Regions from separate parts of the Homo sapiens genome. Here all the other regions are linked to region 1. Evidence: promoter capture Hi-C in 16 types of primary human blood cells and fetal thymus (Javierre and others, 2016). All regions are on one chromosome and are shown on one strand. The core of a region is centred on a gene start or on the middle of the fragment in contact, and the rest is flanking DNA. Distances in the headings are between cores, read along the strand shown.

Evidence for each region. Contacts are between HindIII fragments. The CHiCAGO score rates a contact against its expected background, and 5 or more counts as called.
Region 2: a fragment that was not itself captured here is called in contact with the fragment with the promoter of DPF1 in region 1 in 2 of 17 cell types (total CD8 T cells and M2 macrophages); the score reaches 6.4 in total CD8 T cells.
Region 3: a fragment that was not itself captured here is called in contact with the fragment with the promoter of DPF1 in region 1 in 13 of 17 cell types (M2 macrophages, M1 macrophages, naive CD4 T cells and 10 more); the score reaches 13.8 in M2 macrophages.
Region 4: a fragment that was not itself captured here is called in contact with the fragment with the promoter of DPF1 in region 1 in 2 of 17 cell types (total CD4 T cells and non-activated CD4 T cells); the score reaches 6.2 in total CD4 T cells.

The regions. Positions count from the first base shown.
Region 1 is chr19:38,222,972-38,228,991 of GRCh38, reverse strand. DPF1 (double PHD fingers 1) reads left to right here and starts at 4,770. Exons shown (of 12, transcript NM_001135155.3): 1 at 4,770-4,878. The coding sequence starts at 4,850. RefSeq lists an enhancer at 743-1,513 and a silencer at 4,436-5,005. The HindIII fragment of the contact is 14,724 bases long and covers 1-6,020 here.
Region 2 is chr19:37,951,476-37,957,959 of GRCh38, reverse strand. All of the region lies in intron 1 of SIPA1L3 (signal induced proliferation associated 1 like 3), which reads right to left. Among named protein-coding and RNA genes, the nearest start is that of SIPA1L3, 48 kb to the right of the region's middle. The HindIII fragment of the contact is 1,843 bases long and covers 3,977-5,819 here.
Region 3 is chr19:37,885,251-37,891,406 of GRCh38, reverse strand. It overlaps WDR87 (WD repeat domain 87), which reads left to right. Exons shown (of 6, transcript NM_001291088.2): 6 at 1,131-6,156. The region is part of intron 4 of LOC105372395 (a long non-coding RNA gene); the gene reads right to left. Among named protein-coding and RNA genes, the nearest start is that of WDR87, 18 kb to the left of the region's middle. The HindIII fragment of the contact is 9,115 bases long and covers 1-6,156 here.
Region 4 is chr19:37,866,026-37,872,056 of GRCh38, reverse strand. All of the region lies in intron 2 of LOC105372395 (a long non-coding RNA gene), which reads right to left. Among named protein-coding and RNA genes, the nearest start is that of WDR87, 38 kb to the left of the region's middle. The HindIII fragment of the contact is 2,568 bases long and covers 2,343-4,910 here.

The sequences.
Region 1 (6,020 bases), core at 3,521-6,020:
AACCCGCCGTCAGTCTGGACCGCGGCATCCCTCCCTCTCCCCGCGCATACACATCAAACGGGAGCATCTCTGATCCCTTTGGGGACCGGCTGCCCAGGAGGGGGTGCCGGGAGCGCCCTCGGTCTCCGGGGATTCCCTCCCTTTCTCCCTGGCCGCGGTCCTCCGAGCGTTCGCCTCTTCCCGGGCCCGGTGGCTGGGAATCCGGAAGCCTGGGTCCGAGCCTGGCCCCTCCTGACCCTCTCCTCTCCTTGCCATCCCTCGCGCTCTCCACACCTCCCCTTCCCCCTCTCCATCTCGCTCTTGCTTCCTCTTCGGGATCCCGGACTCCACGTCCCAGCGCTCCCCACCCCCCGTTCCCAGGCGGTGACAGCGGGCTCCAAGTGACAGGCACTCGGCCGCTCCCGCCCTCCCTCCCCGCAGGCGAGCGAGGCGCTCCCCTCCCCCTCCTCCCGGGCCTGGTGGAGGAGGCGGAGGGCGAGCGCCCGCGGCGTCGCACAAAGGGGCCGGGGCGACCTCCCCCACCCTTCCCCCAACCCCGTGCGCTGGCTGCCTTGACCTTGAACATCGAGGGCTGGGGGCGGGGGTGGGGGGTGGGGGGAGAGAGGGAGAGAGGGAGCGCCCCCCTACCCCACCCACGAGAAGGGATGCGCCTGCTGGCTGGACCAGAGGCCGCCAGTTGCTTCTGGTTTCTGGCGGGAATGGGGGTGGGAGGTGGAGGGTGGGAGTTGGGAGAGGAAGGGGGGCAGGGACTTAGAGGCAAGCGCCTACACGTGTGGCTTCGCCGTGAGCAGGGTGCCGGGAGCGGGTGTGTGGGGCTCGGGTCCGTGTGAGGTGGTGTATGATGGTGACACCCCTCTGCTGCCCTCTCACCCTAAGTGGCACACACAGACAGCTGTCTCTCCTGTGAGGGGACATCCGCAAAATGGCTGGGAACGGGGCTCTTGTGCAGGTTGGTGGATCTACAGGCGATGGGGCCCCTCACCCTGACCCTGGCCCAGACCCCTGGGAGGAGGTGTGCTACAGCCGTGAGCAGGGGCCCAGCTACAGTAAGCCTGGACTGGGAGGGCCCTACCCCTCTGTGCCCTTCCCTTCCAAAAGGTCTCTGTGGGGGTGAAGGTGGGGACTCCCTGGCTCCTGAAAGAATGTGAGTCAAATCCCCTGGGGAGAAGGAGCTGCAGGGTGCCGCCCTCGGAAGTTCCGACTGCCTGAGTTCCAAAACCAGCTTGAGCCACGAATGTTCCCTGCCGTGAGCCTCAGTTTTGCCATCTGTGTATGGGGGCTTCTAACAGCCCTTACCACCCGATGGGACTGTCGTGGGGCTAAGGCCATCTTTGTAAAGCAGTTAGCACAGAGACTGACACTGACCAAATGTAGTGATTATTATTAGTAGTATCAATATTGATTTATGAAATTGATTTCTACTGTGGGCCAGCTCCCACACAGGGCATTGGGGGATGGGGCAGGAGGATTGTTTGGGCCAGGGAGAGGACTGGGAGTTCAAGTGTGTAGGAGAGTATGTGGGAGTGGTGTGTGCAGGTGGTTAGGGCAGAAGGAAAGAAAGGAGAGCCCGCTGCAAGTGTCAGCCTGCGTCTGTGGGTAGATATCCTGCTGGTGGGCCGGGCATGGTGGCTTATGCCTGTAATCTCAGCACTTTGGGAGGGCAGGGTGGGCAGATCACTTGAGCTTAGGAGTTTGAGACTAGCCTGGCCAACACAGGGACACCCTGTTTTTACAAAAATACAAAAATTAGCCGGGTGCGGTGGCACAGGCCTGTAGTCCCAGCTACTTGGGGGTTTGAGGTGGGAGGATCGCTTGAGCCTGGGAGGTGGAGGCTGCAGCGAGCTGTGTTCATGCCATGGCACTCCAGCCTGGGCCATCGAGTGAGACGCTGTCCAAAAAAAAAAAAGAGAAAAAGAGAAAGAGGAAAGAAAGAGAAGAAAAGAAAGAAAGAAAGAAAGGAAGGAAGGAAGGAAGGAAGGAAGGAAGGAAGGAAGGAAGAGAAATAAAAGAAGAAAAGAAAAGAAAGAAAAATAGAAATTCTGCTGGTAGAGGAGGACTGTTAGGAAGGTCTGCACTCAGTGTCTACACTCGGGCTTCTCTTAATCAAATCGACATGAGAGTTTGGGGTGGGGCAGGAGTGAGTCTGCGTGTCTGAGGCTAGCGGTGTGGGAATCAAGTGTAAGAGGGTGTGTTACGGGACCTGTGAGCTAATGGGAGGTGAGAGAGGAAGGTGGGGTCACAGCTCACCGTGGGTAAGGTGTGAGGTGGCCACTATAGGGCCCTGGAGGCCAGAGTGATCGTAGGGGTGTCAGTGCCCCTCACTTAATCCCCTTGTCACCACTCCAGGCCATATGTGAATCAGAGACCTACCTCCTGTTCCAGGAGAGGGGCCGGCCAAGACCTTACCTGGCTTAGATGGGCGAGTTTGTGGAAAGGGTCTAAGACTAGAGGAGTGTGTGTGTGTGTGTGTGTGTGTGTGTGTGTGTGTAGAAGTGACCGTGAGTGTAGGAGGCCTTGACTGGATCTCTCTCTTGGGGGGATTTCAAGTGACAAAAATGGTGAAGGCTAGCGGGCCACTTCTGTCGGCTGGGGCGCCCCCTGGTGGATGAGGGCGTTTGTGGGCGTGTTAATTACAGCAGCCGCCCAAATTTGAATGCTGGCTCTACAGGGGTCCGGGTGGAAGAGGGGAAGGGGAAAGGGGGAGAAGGGGTGGGAAGGGGAAAGGGGGAGGAGGGGTGAGACGGGAGGGGGGACGGGGTGGTGGTGTTGCAGAGAGACTGGGTCAGTTTGTGACTCAGTGGGTCTGCTCACTCCCTGGGGATCTCTTCGGGTGGAGTCAGTGTGGGTGACAGTGGGAGAGAGAAGGAGGTCAGGACTACTTGGGGAGGGCCGTCAGGGGTGCCTGCCTCCTTCCTTCAGTCTTACCTTCAAAGAGCCGCCAGGGCATGCGGGCATGTGAGGTTACCTTCCTGTGCCTCAGATTCCTCACCTGGAAAATGCAGATAATAAAAGCATCCCGGGGTGAACTGTGCCCAGCACATGATGGGTGCATTTACTCATTCAACAAATATCTACTGAGCATCTATTTTTTTTTTTTTTTTTGGAGACAGGGTCTTGCTCAGTTGTCCAGGCTGGAGTGTAGTGGTGTGATCATAGCTCACTGCAGCTTCGATCTCCTGGGTTCAACCAATCCTCCTGACTCAGCCTCCTGAGTAGCTGGGACCATAGGCATGTGCCACCATGCCCAGCTATTTATTTTTTTTTTAGTAGAGACCAGGTCTCGCTATGTTGCCCAGGCTGTTCTCCTGAGCTCAAGCGGTCCTCTCATCTCAGCCTCCCAGATTGCTGGGATTACAGGCATGAGTCACGGCGCCCTGCTTACTTAGTTTTTTGTTTGTTTGTTTGTTTGTTTGTTTGCTTTTAGAGACAGAGTCTCGCTCTGCCACCCAGGCTGGAGTGCAGTGGTGAGACCACAGCTCACTGCAGCCTCAGCCTCCCAGGTTCAAGCTATCCTCCCACTTTAGCCTTGCAAGTAGCTGGGACTACACTGCTGCGCCATCATGCCCAGCTAATTTTAATTTTTTTTTGTAGACACAGGGGTCTGGATATGTTGCCCAGGTTGGTCTCAAACTCCTGGGCTCAAGCAGTGCTCTCATCTAGGCCTCCCGAAGTACTGGGATTGCAGACTGGAGCCATCGCACCTGGCCGCATTATTCTTTCTTTCTTATTATTTATTTATTTATTTTTGAGAGGGAGTCTCACTCTTGTTGCCCAGGCTGGAGTGCAATGGCACGATCTCAGCTCACTGCAACCTCCACCTCCTGAGTTCAAGTGATTCTCCTGCCTCAGCCTCCTGAGTGGGGGAGTATAAGCATGCGCCACCATGCCCGGCTAATTTTGTATTTTTAGTAGAGACTACTACCATGTTGGCCAGGCTGGTCTCGAACTCCCATCCTCAGGTGATCCACCTGCCTGGGCCTCCCAAAGTGCCGGGATTACAGGTGTGAGCCACTGCGCCTGGCCTGCCAGTCACCTCTTAAAATGCTTTACCTATATTTACTCATTTAATCCTCACAACACTCCAGTGAGGCATCATCCTCTTTTTACAGATGAGGAAACTGAGGCCCAGAAAGGTTAAGTCATTTGCCAAGGTCACATGGCCACCAAGTGGCAGAGCTAGGATTTGAACCCTGGAGGTGTGACTACTGTTTCTAACCTGCACTGCTGCTGTCAGGCCTGCAGAAGGCGTTGAGCAGGGCGGGGTGACCGTGAGCGTGGCTGCTGGGAGAGACAGCCCCGGGTGGGGTCTCTGGAGCCAGGAGGGACTTGGGTGGGGGGCGGTGAGGGGGTGTCTGCTGGAAGCATGTTGGTGAGAAGTCTGTGTGGGCACCTGGGAGGTGTCTCTGCGTCTCTTAGTATTGCAGTGTGTGTGCGTGTGGCTGTGTGAGTCCGTGCGAAGGTGTGTGAGTAGGAGTGTGTGGGAGGCTGTGAGTATCCGCGTGAATGTGTGTGTAAACTGCCATGCGTGGGCGTGTGCGAGTCCAGGTGTGCATGTGGTTGTGTGCACGCGAGAGCAGGATATGTGGACGAGTGAGGGCGGGTGAGTGACGGTGCGTGCCCCGGGCCCCTCCTCCGCGCCGTCCCGTCCCCGCGGGGTCCCGGGGGCCCCCTGGCCTGGGACTACCACTCCCAGCATGGCCCGGGCGGGCCCGCCCCGTCGCCGCGATTGGCCGTGGCCCTCGTGCTCCCGCCCCCCGGGAATGAATGGATGGGCGGCCTCAGCGCCCGCCCGACCGCTGGGAGGACCGACCCGGCGGGGACCTGCTGGGGGCAGGACCCGGGGAGCAAGATGGCCACTGTCATCCCTGGCCCCCTGAGGTGGTGCGGGCCGGCGGGAGGCGGAGAGGAAGCGCGGGCGGGTCTACGCGGGCCTGTGTGTGTGTGGCGACCGGGGGTGGGGCCGAAGGGGTGTCTGGGGGGCTGTCACCGAGTGCGGGGCTGCGCGGGGGTGCGAGAGTGTGTGACTGTGGGTCTCTGACAAGAATGGTGTCGGATGCACCGCTCCCTGGCGGGGTGGAGGGCGTGGGGGGCCTCCAGATTCTTTTTGGGGAAGGGAGACATCATCCCTTCCCTGCAACCCTCGGGTCTGGGAGAGACTGAAATGACCCGGGGGTGCGGGGGCCTTGGCAACTGGAGTGAAGTCCACACTACCTTTGTCTTGGGATGTGGAGTGTGTGTGTGTATCACTTATTTGTGTTCTGGTTTTTTTAAGAATTTTTGGGGGATAGGTGTGTGGACATGTGTCTGTTTCCTTTTATTCTGCACTAGATATCTTTGGATATTTGGGTCTCCCAGTGTGTGTCCGTGTCCTTTGGAACTATATGTCATTTGTCTTGTGTTCTGTGTTTTTGGGTATGTAGGGCTGCGTGTATTTGTGTGTAAATTTTTGTGTGACTATGGGTGGATTTGGCTGTTTCTGTGTTTTATATGTGTGTGTGTCTGTGTGGATGTGTGATATTTTAGATACTGGTTGCGCATCGTGCATCTTTGTAAATGTGTGTGTGTACCTGTGTGAATCTGTGTGATTTCTTTGTGTTGTGTGTCTGGATATTGTGTGTGTGGTTTGTGTTGTGTCTTTGGATACATGGGTAAGTGCCTAGGGGCGCAAGTGGTTTCTGTAGTTCCTGTCTTTTGACATGCTTGTGTCTTTGGATGCATGAGGGGGTGTATGTGTGTGTGGTGTGATGTTTCCATGTTGTGTGTCTTTGTGTGGGTGATGTGTTTCTGGTGTGTGTCTGTGGATATGTGATGTGTCTTTGTGCATGGTTATTTGTGTGATTTGTCTCCACACTATGGAACTTGGGATATTTGTCTTTTTCAGTAGATATTTATGTGTGCACGTGTGTGAGGTTTGTCTGTTTCTCCTTTGTGAGTATTGGGATTTGTCTCTCTTTGTGTGTGAATCCCGTGTGACTGTGTGTGATTTGTGTTGTGTGTCTGCATGTGTTCAGGTAGGGATA
Region 2 (6,484 bases), core at 3,649-6,148, 270 kb after region 1:
GGAGGACTGTTTGGGCCTGGGAGTTCAAGACCAGCCTGGGCAACACGGCAAAACCCTGCCTCCACAAAAATAAAAAAAAAATTAGCCAGGCATGGTGATGCATGCCTATAGTCACAGCTACTCCAGAAGCTAAGGTGAGAGGATCACTTGAGCTCAGAAGTCGAGGCTGCAGTGAGCTGTGATTATGCCACTGTACACCAGCCTGGGCAACAGAAGACTCTGTCTCAAAAAATAAATTAAATTAAATTAAAAATTAGCTGGGCATGGTGACATGTGCCTATAGTCCTAGCTATGCAGGAGGTTGAGATGGGAGGGCTGCTTGAGCCCAAAAGGCCATGATTGTGCCACTGCACTCCAGACTGGGTAACAGTGAGATCCTGTCTCAAAAGAAAAGAAAAAAGAAAAAAAAGAAAAAAAAATTCCATTCACAATAGCATAAAAAAAATACATAAGAATAAATTTAACATAAGTGTAGACTTGTACACTGAAAGCTACAAGCACTGAAAAGCTGAAAGAAATTAAAGACAATCTAAATAAACAGAGAAGCATTCTTTGTACACAAACTGGAAGACTAAACATTAATATGGCAATTCTCACCATATTGACATGTAGAGTCAACACACAGTCTATCAAATCCCAGCAGGCTTTTGTGCAGATATTGACAAGGTGATCTGAAAACTTGTCAGTATGCAAAGGACCCACACAAGCCAAAACAATTTTGGAAAACAAAACAAGGTGAGGACTTAACACTTCCCGATTTCTAAAGTAACTTTAAAGCTACAGTAATGAAGACTGTGGCACTAGCAGTAGGATAGACATTTAAACCAATAGATCAGAAGAAACAAACCCTTATATTAATAATCAAATGACTTTTACCATAGTGCTACCTAATTCAGTGGAGGAAAATGGTCTTTTTTTCAACAAATGGAGCTGGGATAATTGGATATTAATACGCAAAAAGATAAATTTAGGCCCCTTATGTAATACACAAAAATGATATCAAAATTAATGATAGATTCAAAGGCAAGAGTTAAAAGTATGCAACTTCTAGGAGAAAACATGAAAGAAGAACTTCATGATACTGGGTCAAAGAGTTCTTAAATATAATACCAAAAGCACAATCCATAAAAGACTAATTGATAAACGGAATTTCCAAAATTAAAAACTTTTATATTAGGGTGGGCGTGGTGGCTCACACCTGTAATCCCAACACTTTGGGAGGCCAAGGTGGGCGGATCACTTGAGGTCAGGAGTTCAAGACCAGCCTGGCCAACATGGCGAAACCCCATCTCTACTAAAAATACAAAAATTAGCTGGGCATGGTGGCGTGTGCATGTAATCCCGGCTACTCAGGAGGCTGAGGCAGGAGAATTGCTTGAACCCGGGAGGCAGAGATTGCAGTGAGCCGAGATTGTGCCACTGCTCCAACCTGGGTGACAAGAGTGAGACTCAGTCTCAAAAAAAAAAAAAAACAAAACTTTTATACTTCCAAAGGCATGACTAAAAAAATAAAAATATTTTCTGGGAAAAAATATTTGCAAACTACATATCTGATGAGTGTTATCCAGAACATATCAAGAACTCTTACAACTCAATGAAATAACAAGATTAAGAAATAGGCAAACAATACAAATACATATTTCACCAAAGAAGATACACGAATGGCCAATAAGCACATAAAAAGATGATCAACAGCATTAGTCATCAGAGACATGCAAATCACAACTACAATGAGATACCACTGCACACCCACCAGGATGGCTGTAACAATAAGCGTTGGTGAGGATAAAGAAATACTGGACCCCAGCCAGGGGCGGTGGCACGCACCTGTGGTCCCAACTATTCAGGAGGCTGAAGCGGGAAAACAGCTTGAGCCCAGGAGTTTGATACTGTAGTGCGCCATGATCACGCCTGTGAATAGCCATTGTACTCCAGCCTGGACAACATCATGAGACCCTATCTATGAAAATGGCGCAGCCACTTTGGAAAACAATCTGGCAGTTTCTTAAAAACTTAAACAGAGTTACCAAATGACCCAGTAATTCCACTCCTGAGCAGAAATGAAAACATGTCCACACAAAGACCTGAACATAAATGTCTATAACAGCACTACTCATACTAGCCCAAACTGGAAACAATCCAAGTATCCATTAACGAATAATGGTAATGAAATTATCCATTCATGGTTAACGAATAAACAAAATGTGGTTTACCCATACAATAGAATATTATTCAGCAATAAGAACAAATGAACGACTGATATGAGCTATCACCTGGAGGAAGCGCAGAAACATTATGCTAAGTGACGGAAGCCTGGTACAGAAAAGACTACATACTGTATGACTGCATGTATTTGAAATGTTCAGGAAACGCAAATCTACAGAGACAAAGAGCAGGTTAGTGGTAGCCTGGGCCTAGGCGTGGAAGCAAGGACTGCCTGCAAAGAGGTACAAGATGGATATCTTTTGGGGTGGTGGTAATATTCTAAAACTGGATTGTGGTGATAGTTATGCAGCTTCACAAATTTACCAAAAACAGCTGAATTGCATACTCTTTTTTTTTTTTTTTGAGACAGAGTTTTGCTCTTGTTGCCCAGGCTGGAATGCAATGGTGCGATCTTGGCTCACGGCAACCTCCGCCTCCTAGGTTCAAGCGATTCTCCTGCCTCAGCCTCCTGAGTAGCGGGGATTACAGGCATGTGCCAACACACCTGGCTAATTTTGTATTTTTAGTAGAGACGGGGTTTCTCCATGTTGGTCAGGCTGGTCTCAAACTCTCGACCTCAGGTGATCTACCCACCTCGGCCTGCCAAAGTGCTAGGATTACAGGTGTGAGCCACCATGCCTGGCCTTTTTTTTTTTTTTTTTTTTTGAGAGACAGCATCTCACTCTGTCACCCAGGCTGGAGTGCAGTGGTGTGATCCCGGCTCACTGCAACCCCCGCCTCCTGTGTTCAAGCAATCCTCGTGCTTCAGCTACCCAAGTACCTGGGACTACAGGCATGCACCACAATGCCTGGCTAATTTTTGTATTTTTAGTAGAGACAGGGTTTCACCATGTTGTCCTTGCTGGTCTCGAACTCCTGGCCTCAAGAGATCTGCCTGCCTTGGCCTCCCAAAGTACTGGGATTACAGGCATAAGCCACTGCGCCCAGCCTGAATTGCATATTCTGAATGGGTGACTTTTATGGCACGTGTGTATATATACACACATACAGGCGGTGGTGGTGACAACTTCTGTAACCTAATCACCTCTGGACTTCCCACTCCATATGAAACCGCCTGGTTCTTAAAGCCGAGAGGCTTCACGCTTGGATGTGCTTATCACTAGGGGTTTACGGAAACTTAACAGATACAGGAGTATCTTGAAAACAGTGTTTTCAAGGGAAGCAATGTTCAGATCCTCAACATCCACAAGTTCCTCTTCCTAAAACTGATCTGGCTGCAAACCAGCCTGTCTCCTTCCCCACTGCCCACCCGCTGTTGTGCACTCCCCCATTTTCCCAAGGAGCACGACCGAGAGGTGTGTAAACCTCCAGGACTCCAAACACACAACATCAATATTGGTTTCGGGGAAGTAGCCTTTAGTGAACAATAAAAAGCTACTTAAACCCCCAGACTTGCCTGTCTTTCCCTGACTTAAGTATCTTTCTGCCAAACATGAAACTGGGCTTTAAAAATAGGATTTTCTGAACCATAGTAGGATCATGAATGTCAAAGCAGTATAGGTTAGTGGCTCTGATTTGTTCAAAGGGAACATTTTTCAGGACCACTGAATTTTTCTAGATCCACCAAGAAAAAATTCCCAGGGAAAAATTTACATGATTGCTTTCAGCTTCTGTGTACTTTACTCAATAAGGTAGTAAAAACTTTTTTTTATCTAACCACATCATAAAATATTTCAATTACATTCGACCTTCAAAATGTGTACTATTTTCTTCTCCCACAAATAAGACAAATTTAAAGTTACCATAAGCTTATTTTAGATGTTAGCTTTACAGTGTACAAGGAGGTATACAGGGGCTTATCAAAATTCTTTTGGGGAGGATGCAAGCAAAAATGTTTAACGATGATCAGATTAAATTTGAATAATCCTGGCTAACCCATGCCCTAATTCCTGGTGGCTGAGCTGTAGGAACTCAGCATGGGGCACAAATTCTGGGGAAAGCAAGATTTCAGACAATGGCAAAATCACACGTGCCTGGGGGTACAGCCAGCAGCGAGGAGTCAGTCAGGCCTCACAGCCCCTTCTTTCCCAGCTTTCAGGGGCCTCAAAAGCAAAGCTGCTCAAGGGAAGATTTGAAAAGGGATTTTCTGAACCGATAGGTCAATTCAAAAGATTTCCTTTCATTCGAGTAAAAGGGCTTTCGCCCCTCCTTCACCTCAAGTAAGTTTGGCACGCATGCACACACATACACACACACACACATGAGGAATGCATTCACCTTAAATTACCTTGAACTAAGTCAGTGATTACCCTCTTGAATATTTCCCACTATTAGCAAAATTCCTCCTAAGAGCAGACTTTGTTCCGAATTGGTCATGAACTCTATCCAGCTCTTTCCAAAGTTACCTGGGGAGGTACACACTGGGTCAACCATTATCCTAATAAAGTGCACAGATCTGACCAAATTCCTCCTGAAACATGATGCGATACGCCAGGTTTAGCGGCCAGTGTGCAAGGCTGGGTCATGGGCAGGAAAGGAATGTTTTTTTCCAAAGAGGAAAAAAACTGCAGACTTAAACTCTACTTTCATTCATTTGAGAAGGATCCTGGGCCCCCTCTATGGATAGGATTGTAAGCTGAGAATGCGGGTTCACGCCATTCTCCTGCCTCAGCCTCCTGAGTAGCTGGGACTACAGGCCTCCGCCACCACGCCTGGCTAATTGTTTTTGTATTTTTAGTACAGACGGAGTTTCACCATGTTAGCCAGGATCTCCCGACCTTGTAATCCACCCACCTCGGCCTCCCAAAGTGCTGGGATTACAGGCGTGAGCCACCGTGCCCGGCCAAGAATCCTCTGTGCATACACACACTCTGAAGTGTATGCAATCACCCAGGATGGTGTTCAAAATGCAGATACCCAGGCCTCAGGCCCCAAACCAGAATCTCCAGCAATGTGGAACAGAGCTGCTGTATTTTAACAAGTTCCCCAGGCCAGTCTGTTGATCACATAAAGCTAAGAACCGCCACTCAGGAAAGTCTAGCAAAGTGGTTCTCAAATATCTGATTCATACAAATCATTTCTGGAGAATTATTTATTTATTTTTATATTTTATTTTATTTTTGAGACAGAGTCTCACTCTGTTCCTCAGGCTGGAGTGCAATGGCACGATCTTGGCTCACTGCAACCTTCACCACCCGGGTTCAAGGAATTCTCCTGCCTCAGCCCCCTGAGTAGCTGGGATTACAGGTGCCTGCCACCACACCTGGCTAGTTTTTGCATTTTTAGTAAAGACAGGGTTTCACCATGTTGGCCAGGCTGGTTTTGAACTCCTGGCCTCAAGTGATCTACCCACCTCGGCATCCCAAAGTGCTAGGATTACAGGCATGAGCCACTGCGCCTGGCAGAGAATTTTTTAAATTTAAATATAGATTCTAGGGTCCACTAAAATTACTGTATTACTTAGGACTCTTTCGGTTGCAAGTGGCAGAGACCCAATTCAAACTGACTTGAGGGGAAAAAGGGCCAATGTTTTGGCTCCCATTACTGAGAAGTTCAGTTACCCAAAGAATTTGTCTGTAATGAATTATTTCCATCTCCTTTCCACTCGACCCTCTGAGCAAAGATGGTCCCCAGGCCCCCAGCAGCATTAAGCTTACACTCTACAACTTGGCACCTCCATAGGAAGAAAGCTCCTCTTCTTTCCTGGGAGCTCCAGAGAAAGACCTGTCTTAATTCTGATTGGACTGACTCACCTCCTCCCTTCCTTGAACCAATCCCTATGGCAGGAAGATAAGGAATGACCTGAACTGCCCAGGCTACTCCTAAGGCATTTCTAAGTCCAAACCAGGTAGACCAGGACATTCCACAACAGTGGGGCTTTTTTTTTTTTTTTTTTTTTTTGAGACAGTCTTGCTCTGTCGCCAGGCTGGAGTGCAGTGGTGTGATCTCGGCTCACTGCAGCCTCCGCCTCCTGGGTTCAAGTGATTCCCCTGCCTCAGCCTCCCGAGTAGCTGGGACTACAGGCGCCCGCCACCATGCCCGGCTAATTTTTTGCATTTTAGTAGAGACGGGGTTTCACTGTGTTGGCCAGGATAGTCTCTATTTCCTGACCTCGTGATCCGCCCACCTCAGCCTCCCAAAGTGCTGGGATTACAGGTGTGAGCCGCTGCGCCTGGCCCGGGGCTTTTTTTAAGTTGTTTTTTTTCCCACTTCTGTTTCTAAAACTTCCTTCTAGAAAATGTGAAAAATATACAAAAGTTTAAAGAGGAAGATGAAAATAATCTGTAAAGAGGAAGATGAAAATAATCTGTAATCATCC
Region 3 (6,156 bases), core at 1,129-3,628, 340 kb after region 1:
AGATCACTTGAGGTCAGGAGCTCGAGACCAGCCCGGCCAACATGGTGAAACCCCGTCTCTACTAAAAATACAAAAATTAGCCAGGCATGATGGTGGGTGCCTGTAATCCCAGCTATTTGGGAGGCTGAGGTGGGAGAATCACTTGAACCCAGGAGGTGGAGGTTGCAATGAGCAGAGATGGTGCCACTGCACTCCAGCCTGGGTGACAGAGCGAAACTCCATCTCAAAAAAAAAAAAAAAGAGAGATACCAGGTGGGAAGAGAGATAAGTGGAAAGATCTCATCATAGAAAAGACACTCTCGGGTGAGGGACTAAGGGAGGGCTAGCATTAGGAGAAATACCTAATGTAGATGATGCTGGGTTGATGGGTGCAGCAAACCACCATGGCACCTGTATACCTATGTAACAAACCTGCACGTTTTGCACATGTATCCCAGAACTTAAAGTATAATTTTTTAAAAAAATGTATAGATAAGGAAATTATAGTGTATTCATAAACTGAAATACTACTGTGATAAAAAAGAGTGATACATGCAACAACATGGAAGAATCTCAAAAACTATTGAAAGAAAGCAAACACAAAAGAGCACATTTTTTAATGATTCTATTTATTTGGAATCCTAAAAAAGGCAAATGAATCTACAGTCACAGAAAGCAGATCAGTGGTTGCCTAGGGCCAGAGGTTAAGGGTAGATAGATGTTGACTGGGACACTATATAGGAGGGAATTTAGGGGGATAATAGAAATGCCTTATATCCTGATTGTGATTGCAGTAATTACAAAAGTGTATACATTTTTCAAACTCATCAAACTGTTTGCTTAAAATGGGTATATCCTGTTTAAATTATACCTCAGTAAAATTGATTTTTATGAAAGCAATGAAAAAAAAAGACTTTCTAAGGAAGGATCCACTCAAACTCAGGAAGACTCTAAGGCCTAGCTCTCTAGGATTTGGCAGGAGTAGGGGGCTAGGAATAAAGCAAAGAGAATGCTTTTTTTTTTTAAGGCCTCAGTTCTCTCTGTTGTTACTTCTTATATGACAGTTCTTCTTAGCTCACACCTAATATTGGGAAGGGTTTCATGTCGCTTCCCATACTTTGCTTACCTCCATCTCTCGATTTTTACTGCAGGCCAAAAATGGTTGCGGGGTCTCAAGAAGACGAAAGAGAGAGACTCTAAACAGATGAGCACAGAGCCAGGCCTCTTAGAGGATGAAAGTGGGACTGAGGCCGCACCAATTGAGATGGAGGAAGCATCCGTCTATTCCCAATGGTCTTCAAGCACCAGTGTAATAAAGCTCTCAAAAGATGTTGATTCTCAAGAGAAAGATATCTCGAAGGATCACATTGCATTGACCCTGAAGAGGCTGCAGAAAATACGTGACAAAAGAGACAAGAAAGCAACAGCTCAGAAACTCAAAAAGAAGCACAAAAAGAAGGGAAAAGAAGCCAAAGTTATAAATGAGGAAACTACACCTCCTGTAATGGAACAGCCAGTTACTAAAAAGGTTAAAATCCAAGGGCGGGGAGCCTCTGGAATATCTGGCCGCAGGTCAACCGCTGGAGATGGCTCATCATGGAGGGACGATCTATGTCGTCTTATGGCCCTGAGGATATCTGGTTCCCAAACAAAAATGTCAGAAAACCTAAACGCTGAGCTAGTGACATTTGCTCAGGAGATGCTGGTAGATAGGCACCCCAGCTGGGAACTCTTTCAGGAGATCTGCCCCCTATTGAAGAAAGAAAGTAAGGTTCTGCTTGAGGACCTTGATTGGGATGTAGTCCCGCCAGAGAAGAAACCAATTTTTATCCAGGAAGGAGCAATTAGAGAGGACATGATACAAGGTGTGACCCAAGAGGTGATCAGACACAAGGAAGTGATGCCAAGGGAAGAAGAACAAGCACAAAAGAAAGCAAGAGACATGCTGGGCTTGGAGGAAACCCAAGTGATTTTGAAAAAGGGCAAGAAAGTTATTTTTTTAGAACCAGGTAATGTAACCATGGGAAAAGAAATATCAAAGAAAGAAGAGAAGAAAACCTTTCAGAAGTCACCTAAGCAAGGGAGGAAAGCTGTCCAGAAGGAAAGAAAAGTAGGAAAAATAAAGAGGGAAATGACCAAAGAAGAGAGGGATATGAGTGAGGAAGTGGAGGAAATGGCCACACTAGAGGAGAAAGTGGTCAAACAAGAAGGAAAACTGGTTATGATTGAGAGGACACCATCTTGGCAGGACTGGAAAAAGGCCTGGGATGAGTGGAAACAGGTCCATGGTGAGACAAGGAAATCCTGGAAGGCATGGAAGGAAGAATGGGAGAAGAGGCTTCTTCAGGAAGAGGAGAAACTACATCAGGCTGGAGAGAAGCTATCCCCGGAGGAGGAAATGCTTCAGGAGGACAAGAAGCTGAAATGGGAGGAGTGGAAACAAGTCTGGGAAAATATGTTATCATCTAAGTCCAAGGAGCAACAGTACAAGGATGAGGAAGAAGTGACTTTGGAGGAAGAAGTGTCTCGGGAGGGGGAAGAAAAAGAACAGCAGGTCACAGAAGAGCAGAGACACATCCAAGAAGAACACAAATGGGCCAGAATACACAGGAAACGAGCCCGAGCTGAAAAAAAACGAGCCCAAGAAGAGAGGAAATTAGCACAAGAAGAAGAGAAACTTGCACAAGAAGAGAGACAGTTGGCCCAGGAAGAGAGAAAACTGGCCCAGGCATACGTGAAAATAACCCAGGATGACAGGGAAATGGCCCAGGCAGAGGGTAAGTTTGCCCAGAAAGAGGAAACACTGGCCCAAAGAGGGGAGAAGCTAAGCCAGGAGGCGGAGAAATTGGCCCAGAAAAGGAAGAAACTGGCCAAGAAATGGGAGAAAGTGGCTAGAGAAGAAGAGAAACTAGCAAAGAAAGGAGGGAAACTGGCTGAGGTGAAAAACATATTGGCCCAGAAAGTGGAAGAACTGCCCCAGAGGGAACAAAATCTGGACTGGCAAGAAAAGGAGCTGGCCCAGGAATTGGAGGAACTGGAATGGGACATGGAAGAACTGTCTTGGAAAGAAGAGGAACTGAATCAGGAAGAGGGGAAACTGGTTGAGGAAAAGAAGAAACTGGCTGAGGAAGAGGAGGCATTGGCCTGGCAAAGGGAGAAACTGTCTGAAGAAGAGACAAAACTGGCCCAGGAAGAAGAGTTGCTGATCCAGGAAAAGGAGAAACTGGCCCAGCACAAGGAAAAAATGCCTGAGGAAGAGGAAAGACTGGGACGGAAAAGGGAGCAATTGATTGAGAAGAAGATGAAACTGGCCCAAAAAAGGGAAAGATGGATCAACAGCATGGAAGAACTCACAAAGAACAAGATGATACTGTACCAGAAGAAGAATCTGGCTCAGGAAAAGAAGAATCTGGCCCAGGAGAAGGAAAAATTGGCTCAGAGGAAAGAGAACCTACTCTATAATAAAGAAAGACTCACCCACAGCAAAAAGCAATTAGTGCAAGTAAAGAACAAATTGGGAATGTTCAACAAGATACTGGCTCAGGTAGAGGAGAAGCTGACACAGGAAAAGGAGACTGTGATCAAGAAGAAGGAGAAACTGGCTGAAACAGAGAAAAAATTGGTCCAAGTAGAGGATAGTTTGGCCAAAAAACAGGAGAAATTGGCCCAGGAAAAAATGAAATTAGCTCTGGAGAAGGCAATGGTCCAAGGAAAGAAACGGCTCAGAGGAGAGTTGGATATTGCTAAGGAAGAAAAGGCATTGAACCTGGAAATGAAAAGACTGGCTGAGGAGAAGATGAGACTGGTTGAGGGAAAAGAAACACTGTCTAAGGGAGAGACTCCAGAAACTTCTAGACAAAGGAAAATGACTCAAGTTGAACAAGAACTATTTGAGAGAAAATTGTCACTAGAGGAGAAGATACTGCTACATGAAGACAGGATATTGGCCATGGAGGAAAGCGAAATTGCCAAAGGAAAACTGGAATTTACTAGAGGACAGAGAATATTTGTCCAGGGGCAAAGAAAGTTAGCCAAGGCTTCAAGGAAGTTGATTAAAAAAAGGGAGAGCCTTTCCAAGGAACCAGCAAAACTGAACAAAATCTTAAAGGCACTTCAAAAACTAACCAGGGATGAAAGGAAACTAACACAGGAAGAAATAAAAATGACAAAGATGAAGAGGGCACTCTTTGTTAAGGAGCGCAGGTTGAGTATAGAACAGAGTAAGCTGGATATCAAAGAGTGGGATTTTTCTGAAAAACGATCAGAACTGACTAAAGATGAGAAGAAACTGGCTCGGAAGCAGAGAAAACTGGCCAACAAAATGAGAAGAATGATAAACAAAGAAGAAAAAATGACTGAGGAAGAGAGCAAATTGGCCAGAAAGCATTCAGAAGTCATACTGGATGATGAAGAGGAAGGAGGAATAGAAGAAGAAGAGGTAATCCCATTCCTTAAACGAAGGTGGAGAAAGAGGAAAGAGGCCAAGAGAGGTGACAAACCAAAAGAAAAGTTTTCCAGTCAAGTGGATGAAGTGGAAAGTGAAGAGCATTTTTCTGAAGAAATGGAAAGCCTGTTAGATGAACTAGAAAAGCAAGAGAGTTTGTCTTCTGAGGAGGAGGAGGAAAGGGAGGAAGAAGAGGAAAGGGAGGAGGAGGAGGAAAGGGAGGAGGAGGAGGAAAGGAAGGAGGAGGAGGAAGGGGAGGAGAAGCAAGTGGAGAAAGAAGAGGAGGAGAAGAAGAAGAAGAAAAAGGAAAAGAAGAAGGAGGAGGTTCAGGAGAAGGAAGAAGTGTTTGAGGAGAAAGAAGAAATTATGAGTGAGGAAGAGACAGAAAGTTTGAGTGACGAGGAAGAGGAAGAGGAGAGCTGCTCATTGGAAGAAGAGGTGGACAGGGAAAAAGAGATCTTAAAAAAAGAAAAACAATTTAAGTTACAAGAACAAAGAAGAAAGAGCCTAAGAGGAAGGGAAAGAGTCCTTTCCATTTTAAGAGGAGTTCCTCATGGCAAAGGCAGGGCTATAAGACTAGGAGTTCTAAAAAGCCCTTTGAAGAAACTGATGTCAACAGCTCTGGAGATGAAAGAGAAAACACCAGTGCCAGTGCCGGAGAAACAAATATCCTGGGAAGATAAAAAGGCCACAGTAGTTGAAATACCCAGGAAATTCTTAGGGACAATGGATAAAGAAAGAGAAGTGATGGGAAAATATGAACCCATACCTCCACATGTTTTGGGTACAGTTTTGGAGTCCCAAGCACAGGACTTAAAGACCCCATTTATGTCCCACATATTAAGGAGGACCGTGGAAGCTGAGGAACTCCAACACAAACCACTAGGTGCCTGGTGGAAGTGGTTTTTGCAGCATCCACCTCTGATGGGACAGACTGAGGTACAGTTACCTCTCTCCCAAATCCCAGCTAAGGAACAACATGCAGACGTAAGCCTCTCAGATGTAGAGTGGATCCGCCATGTCCTAGAACGAATGGAAGCGGGAGAACAGCTTTCCAGGGATGGTTTCCATAGACTGTGCCAGCTGCTCAAAGACCTTGCCTCAAAGGGAAACTTAGAATGGCTGCATCTGGCCAAACATGAAGCCATTGTGTACCGTCACAGACAGGCCCTGGAGTCACAAGACACAAGGATCTCAAGTAGACAGTCCATGAGTCCAAAATACCTGAAAGTGATTCCTCCTATAAAAGCAAAGGAAAAGGAGAGCTGGCCAAAACCTTTGGCTGTCCCCACACAAAAGTCCCCATTAGCTACCAAGAGGATTCCAGACCCAAGGGCTAAAAATTGGCATCTTCTAGGAGAACCTTACAGAAGTGAGAGGGCACAGCAGATATCCATTGCTCACAAGGAGATGGAAATGCAATACTTTTATCCTGCCACCAGAGACATTTTTCCAAGTGCCCATGCCTCTGTGGAAAAACAAACCCTGGCACTGATGTTTCAAAAGGACTTCTGGGATTTTAAGGATAAACGCAGGTTTCCTAAACTGCCCAAGTTAGAGAAGAAGACACAGCCCATTTCTAAAAAAAAGGAAGAGTTGCCTTTGTGGGAGACATTTGTGGCACTGTACCATGTTTTGCGGATGCTGCAGCAGCGATATCCAAAAGACAGCACTGCTTGGATGGAACAGTTCTACCAGCTCATGGACCTGTACCAACTTAAGTCCCCCAGAAT
Region 4 (6,031 bases), core at 2,377-4,876, 360 kb after region 1:
ACCCCTGCGTTTCACTATGGATTGGGCAACCCATTTTTCCAGGACCCCTCTCTGCAGCAGAGAGCTATTTTCTTTCTTTCGCTTAGTAAACTTCCACTCTCAACCTCACTCTTTGTGTGTCTGCATTCTTGTTCCTGTGGCTGTGAGACAAGGAACCTTGGGTGTTACTCCAGACTACAAGGCTGCTTCACTAACACACCTTCTCACCATGGATGGTAAGAAGAAAAGACAATTTAAACTCGATTGACCAGGAAGTGGGAGGAGGAGAGAAAGCAGCAGCCCATAAGGTCAGGTGGGGAGAATTTTTTTTTTTTTTTTTTTGAGATGGACTCTCACTCTGTCACCCAGGCTGGAGTCCAGTGGTGTGATCTTGGCTCACTGCAACCTCCACCTCCCAGGTTCAAGCAATTCTCCTGCCTCAGCCTACCAAGTAACTGGGATTACAGGCATGCACCACCATGCCAGGCTAATTTTTGTATTTTTAGTAGAGACGGGATTTTACCATGTTGGTCAGACTAGTCTCAAACTCCTGACCTCAGGTGATCTGCCCACCTCAGCCTCCCAAAGTGTTGGAATTATAGGTGTGAGGCACCATGCCCGGCCAGGTGAGAAGATTTCAATATGGGAGTGGAAACCAAAAATAAAACTCTAAGCACCCCAAACAACTGAATGGACCCCTCCTCTTGGCCAAGGGCATTCTAAGGTAAACCTGAAACACTAGTTCCGGCAATGATGGGAATGGGTGGTTGGACATGTCTCATTATACCTTCTTCCCTTTGGAATTCAGGCACAGCCGACCAGCATGAACAGTGAAACAGAGACCTTAAGACTGAGAAAACATACTTTTTGTAGCAATAAGATACCAACATGACAGATAGGAGGCCCTGAAAGAAATGGAAGTATTTTGTTCCAAAATATATTTCTTTGACACATTTTGAAATGGCCCTGCAAAGCTGACTCTTGTGGGGAAAATCAACATTTGTAGAGAATCCCCTTCCCTTTTCAGGTCTTTTTCCTGATCCAGGAGAGAATGAGAGAATTAACTAAGAGTCTGGCACCTTTCTAAGTCTCATAATAAACATGTATAATCTATTACCTCTGAAACCTGCTACCTGGACACTTCATCTGCATAGTAAGAACCTTGGTCTCCACAACCCCTTATCTTAACCCAGACACTCCTTCTATTGATTCCAGGTCTTTTTTTTTTTTTTTTTTTTTTTTTTTTTTGAGATAGAGTCTCCCTCTATCACCCAGGCTGGAGTGCAGTGGTGCAATCTCGGCTCACTACAACCTCCACCTCCCAGGTTCAAGCAATTCTCTAGCCTCAGCCTCCCAAGTAGCTGGGGTTATAGGTGCTTACCACCACACCCAGCTAATGTTTGTATTTTTAGTAGAGACTGGGTTTCACCATACTGGTCAGGCTGGTCTCGAACTCCTGACCTCAGGTGATTCACCCACCTCGGCCTTCCAAAGTGCTGGGATTACAGGCGTGAGCCACCATGCCCAGCCTAGATAAAGTCAACCAACTGCCATTTAGAAAATTTTGAATCCACCTATGACCTGGACACACCCCACTTCCAGTTGTCCAGTCTTCCCAAATCAAACCAATCTACATCTTGTATGTATTGATTGATGCCTTATGTCTCCCTAAAATGTATAAAATCAAGCTGCAGCCCGGGCACCTTGGGTGCATGTTGTCAGGACCTCCTGAGGCTGTAACACTGGCCATGGTCACTGTATCTGGCTCAGAATAAATCTCTGCAAATATTTTACAGAGTTTGACTCTTTTTGTCAACAGGAGATACTTAAGCACTTAAGCAAAGAAAGTTAAAGCACTTTCCTTAACTCTACAAAGAGTTAAATAAAGAGAGAGGGAAGAAACATGAAAAGCACTCAACAGTCAAGACAGGTTTATTTTGGAGCAATAAACCTGAGAGGGGCTTCTGGCTGATTTCAGTCAGGAGCGTGCTCTATTACAGACTAAGTGTTTATTGGTGAGAGAGCTTGGAATGTTTCTGTGTCGGGGAGAAGTTTATGGTGGGGTTGGAATGTCTCTAGTTGGAGGGAAGGTTATCTTGGGGCTGACATCTCTCCAGCTGGCAGGGAGGTTATCTTGGGGCTGGCATGTCTCTGGTCAGGGAGGAGTCTGGAATGTGTCTGGTCGGAGATGTTATTTGTGGTTTATGGTCATGCTGACCTTAGCCATTAGGCTGATGCCCTTTGGATTTAGGCAGTTTTTAATCAAGGTAAACTTAAAACGACAGTGCTTGGCCAAGGTGGTGATACTCCTGCTCTGTCATGTTTGTCATGCTGACGTGGCCAAATCATGGAGATGGTAAGCTTGAAGGCGTAGGATGAACAGGGGAATACTGGGATAAGCCAGGTCCCTGATAAAGCAAGAGAGAATGGGGTCCAGACTCCAGGTGGAAGAATTAGCTTTAGACAAGGGGACAGGGATGTACCTTTCCAGCGTAGTGAGGGGTGTGAAAGGAAAAAATCTTGGGCCCCCAAAATCACTAAGCTAAAGGGAAAATTCAAGCTGGGAACTCCTCAGGGCAAACCTGCCTCCCATTCTATTCAAAGTCATCCCTTTGCTTACTGAGATAGATGCATATTCTGATTGCCTCCTTTAAAAAGGCGTATCAGAAACTCAAAAGAATGCCATTTGTCTCTCACCTACCTGTGACCTGGAAGTCCCCTCCCTGCTTGAGTTGTTCCCGTCTTTCTGGAGGGAACCAATGTACTTTTTTTTTTTTTTTTTTTGAGACAGAGTCTCACTCTGTCACCCAGGCTGGAGTGCCGTGGTGCCATCTTGGCTCACTGCAACCTCCACCTCCCAGGTTCAAGCGATTCTCCTGCCTTAGCCTCCCGAGTAGATTACAGACGCCCGCCACCGCACCTGGCTAATTTTTGTATTTTTAGTAGAGACGGGGTTTCACCATCTTGGCCAGGCTGGTCTTGAACTCCTGACCTCAGGTGATACACCCGCCTTAGCCTCCCAAAGTGCTGGGATTACAGGCATGAGCCACCGCGCCCAGCCAGAACCAGTGTACTTCTTACATATATTAATTGATGTTTCATCTCCCTAAAATGTATAAAACCAATCTGTGCCTCAACACCTTGGGCGCATGTCGTCAGAACTTCCTGAGGCTGTGTCACGGGCGCGTGTCCTCAACCTTGGCAACATAAACTTTCTAAATTGACACCTGTCCCAAATTTTCAGGGTTCATGGGGGAATAAGAAAAGATAGGAAAGTTTGTAGCTGTGACAAATGAGAAATAAAAATAAAATTCTAGTCTCCAATGGACTGAATGGACCCCATCTTGGCCAAGGGAACCCCACAGAAACCTTGGAAGCTGAGTTCATGGCCATAATAAGATGGGAGATCAGAGAGGCCTTGTTATACCCCCTCCTTCGCTACCAGTCATTAGCCTTTCTTCCCTAAGGGCTAAACAGAACTCCCTGCTTCCCCCCATTTTTTGAGACAGGGTCTCCCTCTGTTGCTCAGGTTGAAGGGCAGTGGCACAATCATGGATCACTGTGGCCTTGACCTCCCTGGCTCAGGTGATCTTCCCACCTCAGCCTCCTGGCTAGTTTCTTTGTATCTTTAGTAGAGACAGGGTTTTGCCATGTTGCCCAGGCTGGTCTTGGACTCTTGGGCTCAAGTGATCTGCCCACGTTGCCCTCCCAAATTTTTGGGATTACAGGCATGAGCCACCGCACCTGGCCCTAAACCAGCCCTTTCAAAAGACTACTGGCTTATCTTACCTGGTACAGAACAAAGACAAGAGTAATCCTTTTTGATTCCTTCACCCCTTCCTGAGACATGCTTCCTATTCCCTTTTTCTTCAAATGTACACCTTGTCTTATGTAAAAGGTAGATTTACTGGGCACTAACTAAAGTCTCACAATTATGTAATCATTTGTCTTACTGTGGGCCTCCCCCACCTCCGCCTTTAAGGAAAACGTATAAACACTAAACCTCCTGAGAACCTCTTTGTAGGCTCTTTGGAGATTCTCCAAACAGCCACAGATGTTTCTGTGACTCATGTTTACTGATTCTCAAGATGGCTCAATAAACCTCCATGATTTGAGACTTATGCCTCAATCACTCATTTTAGTTGTCACAAGTTAAGCAAGTTCCCAACTAATACATTCTATTTTTTCCCAAGCCACTCCTTCTTTTTCTTTCCTTTTTCTTTCTTTTTTCTTTTTCTTTCTTTCTTTCTGTCTCTCTCTCTTTGCTTCCTTCCTTCTTTCCTTCCTTCCTTCCTCCCTTCTCCCTTCGCCCTTTCCCTCCCTCCCTCCCTTCCTTCCTTCTTTCTTTTCTTTTCTTTTGTTTCTTGTCAGGGTCTTGCTCTATCACCCAGACTGGAGTGCAGTGCCGTGATCATAGCTCATTACAGCCTTGAACTCCTGTGATCCTTCCACGTCAGCTTCCCGAGTAGCTGGGACTACAAGCGTGCACCACCATGCTCGGCTATGTTTTTCTATTTTTATAGAGACAGGGTCTCGCCATGTTTACCAGGCTGGTCTCAAACCCCTGGCCTCAAGCAATCCTCCTGCCTCAGCCACCCAAAGTGCTAGTGATTACAGGTGTGAGCCACTGGATCTGACCCACATTCTATTTTTAGAGTGAAGTAAAAAGTTACTATCTGGGAGTGTGAAGGGAGTAAGAAGAAACTTGATTTTTGTAGGGCAATGATCTCCAAGGAGTACAATATTCTCCAGGAGTGTAGGAAGCCTGCAAAGTGCAAGAGCAGTGAATGTTGTCAATTCAAAACAAGTTTAGACTTGGATAAGGAGAGACCTTAGTTAGAAAGGTGTGGTAGCATGTGCCTGTAGTCTCATCTACTTGGGAGGCTGTGACAGAAGGGTCGCTTGTGGTTATGGTCAAAAAGTTGGAAGCTTGTGTAGGGGTGGGTTGCCCCTACACACCTGTGGGTGTTTCTCGTAAGGTGGGACGAGAGATTTGGAAAAGAAAAAGACACAGAGACAAAGTATAGAGAAAGAAATAAGGGGACCCGGGGAACCAGCGTTCAGCATATGGAGGATCCCGCCAGCCTCTGAGTTCCCTTAGTATTTATTGATCATCTGTGGGTGTTTCTCAAAGAGGGGGATGTGTCAGGGTCACAAGACAATTGTGGGGAGAGGGTCAGCAGACAAACACGTGAACAAAGGTCTTGGCATCATAGACAATGTAAAGGATTAAGTGCTGTGCTTTTAGATATGCATACACATAAACATCTCAGTGCTTTACAAAGCAGTATTGCTGCCCGCAGGTCCCACCTCCAGCCCTAAGGCGGTTTTTCCCTATCTCAGTAGATGGAGCATACAATCGGGTTTTATACCGAGACATTCCATTGCCCAGGGACAGGCAGGAGACAGATGCCTTCCTCTTGTCTCAACTGCAAGAGGCATTCCTTCCTCTTTTACTAATCCTCCTCAGCACAGACCCTTTACGGGTGTCGGGCTGGGGGATGGTCAGGTCTTTCCCTTCCCACGAGGCCATATTTCAGACTATCACATGGGGAGAAACCTTGGACAATACCTGGCTTTCCTAGGCAGAGGTCCCTGCGGCCTTCCGCAGTTTTTGTGTCCCTGGGTACTTGAGATTAGGGAGTGGTGATGACTCTTAAGGAGCATGCTGCCTTCAAGCATCTGTTTAACAAAGCACATCCTGCACCGCCCTTAATCCATTCAACTCTGAGTTGACACAGCACATGTTTCAGAGAGCACGGGGTTGGGGGTAAGGTCATAGATTAACAGAATCTCAAGGCAGAAGAATTTTTCTTAGTACATAACAAAATGGAGTCTCCTATGTCTACTTCTTTCTACACAGACACAGTAACAATCTGATCTCTCTTGCTTTTCCCCACAAGCTTGCAGCACTTTGGGAGGCCGGGGCAGGCAGATTGCTTGAGCCCAGGCGTTCAGTATCAGCTTGGGCCACAGCAAAGCTCCATCTCTACCAAAAATACAAACATTAGCGGGGCGTGGTGGCACGTGCCTGTAGTCCCAGCTATTTGGG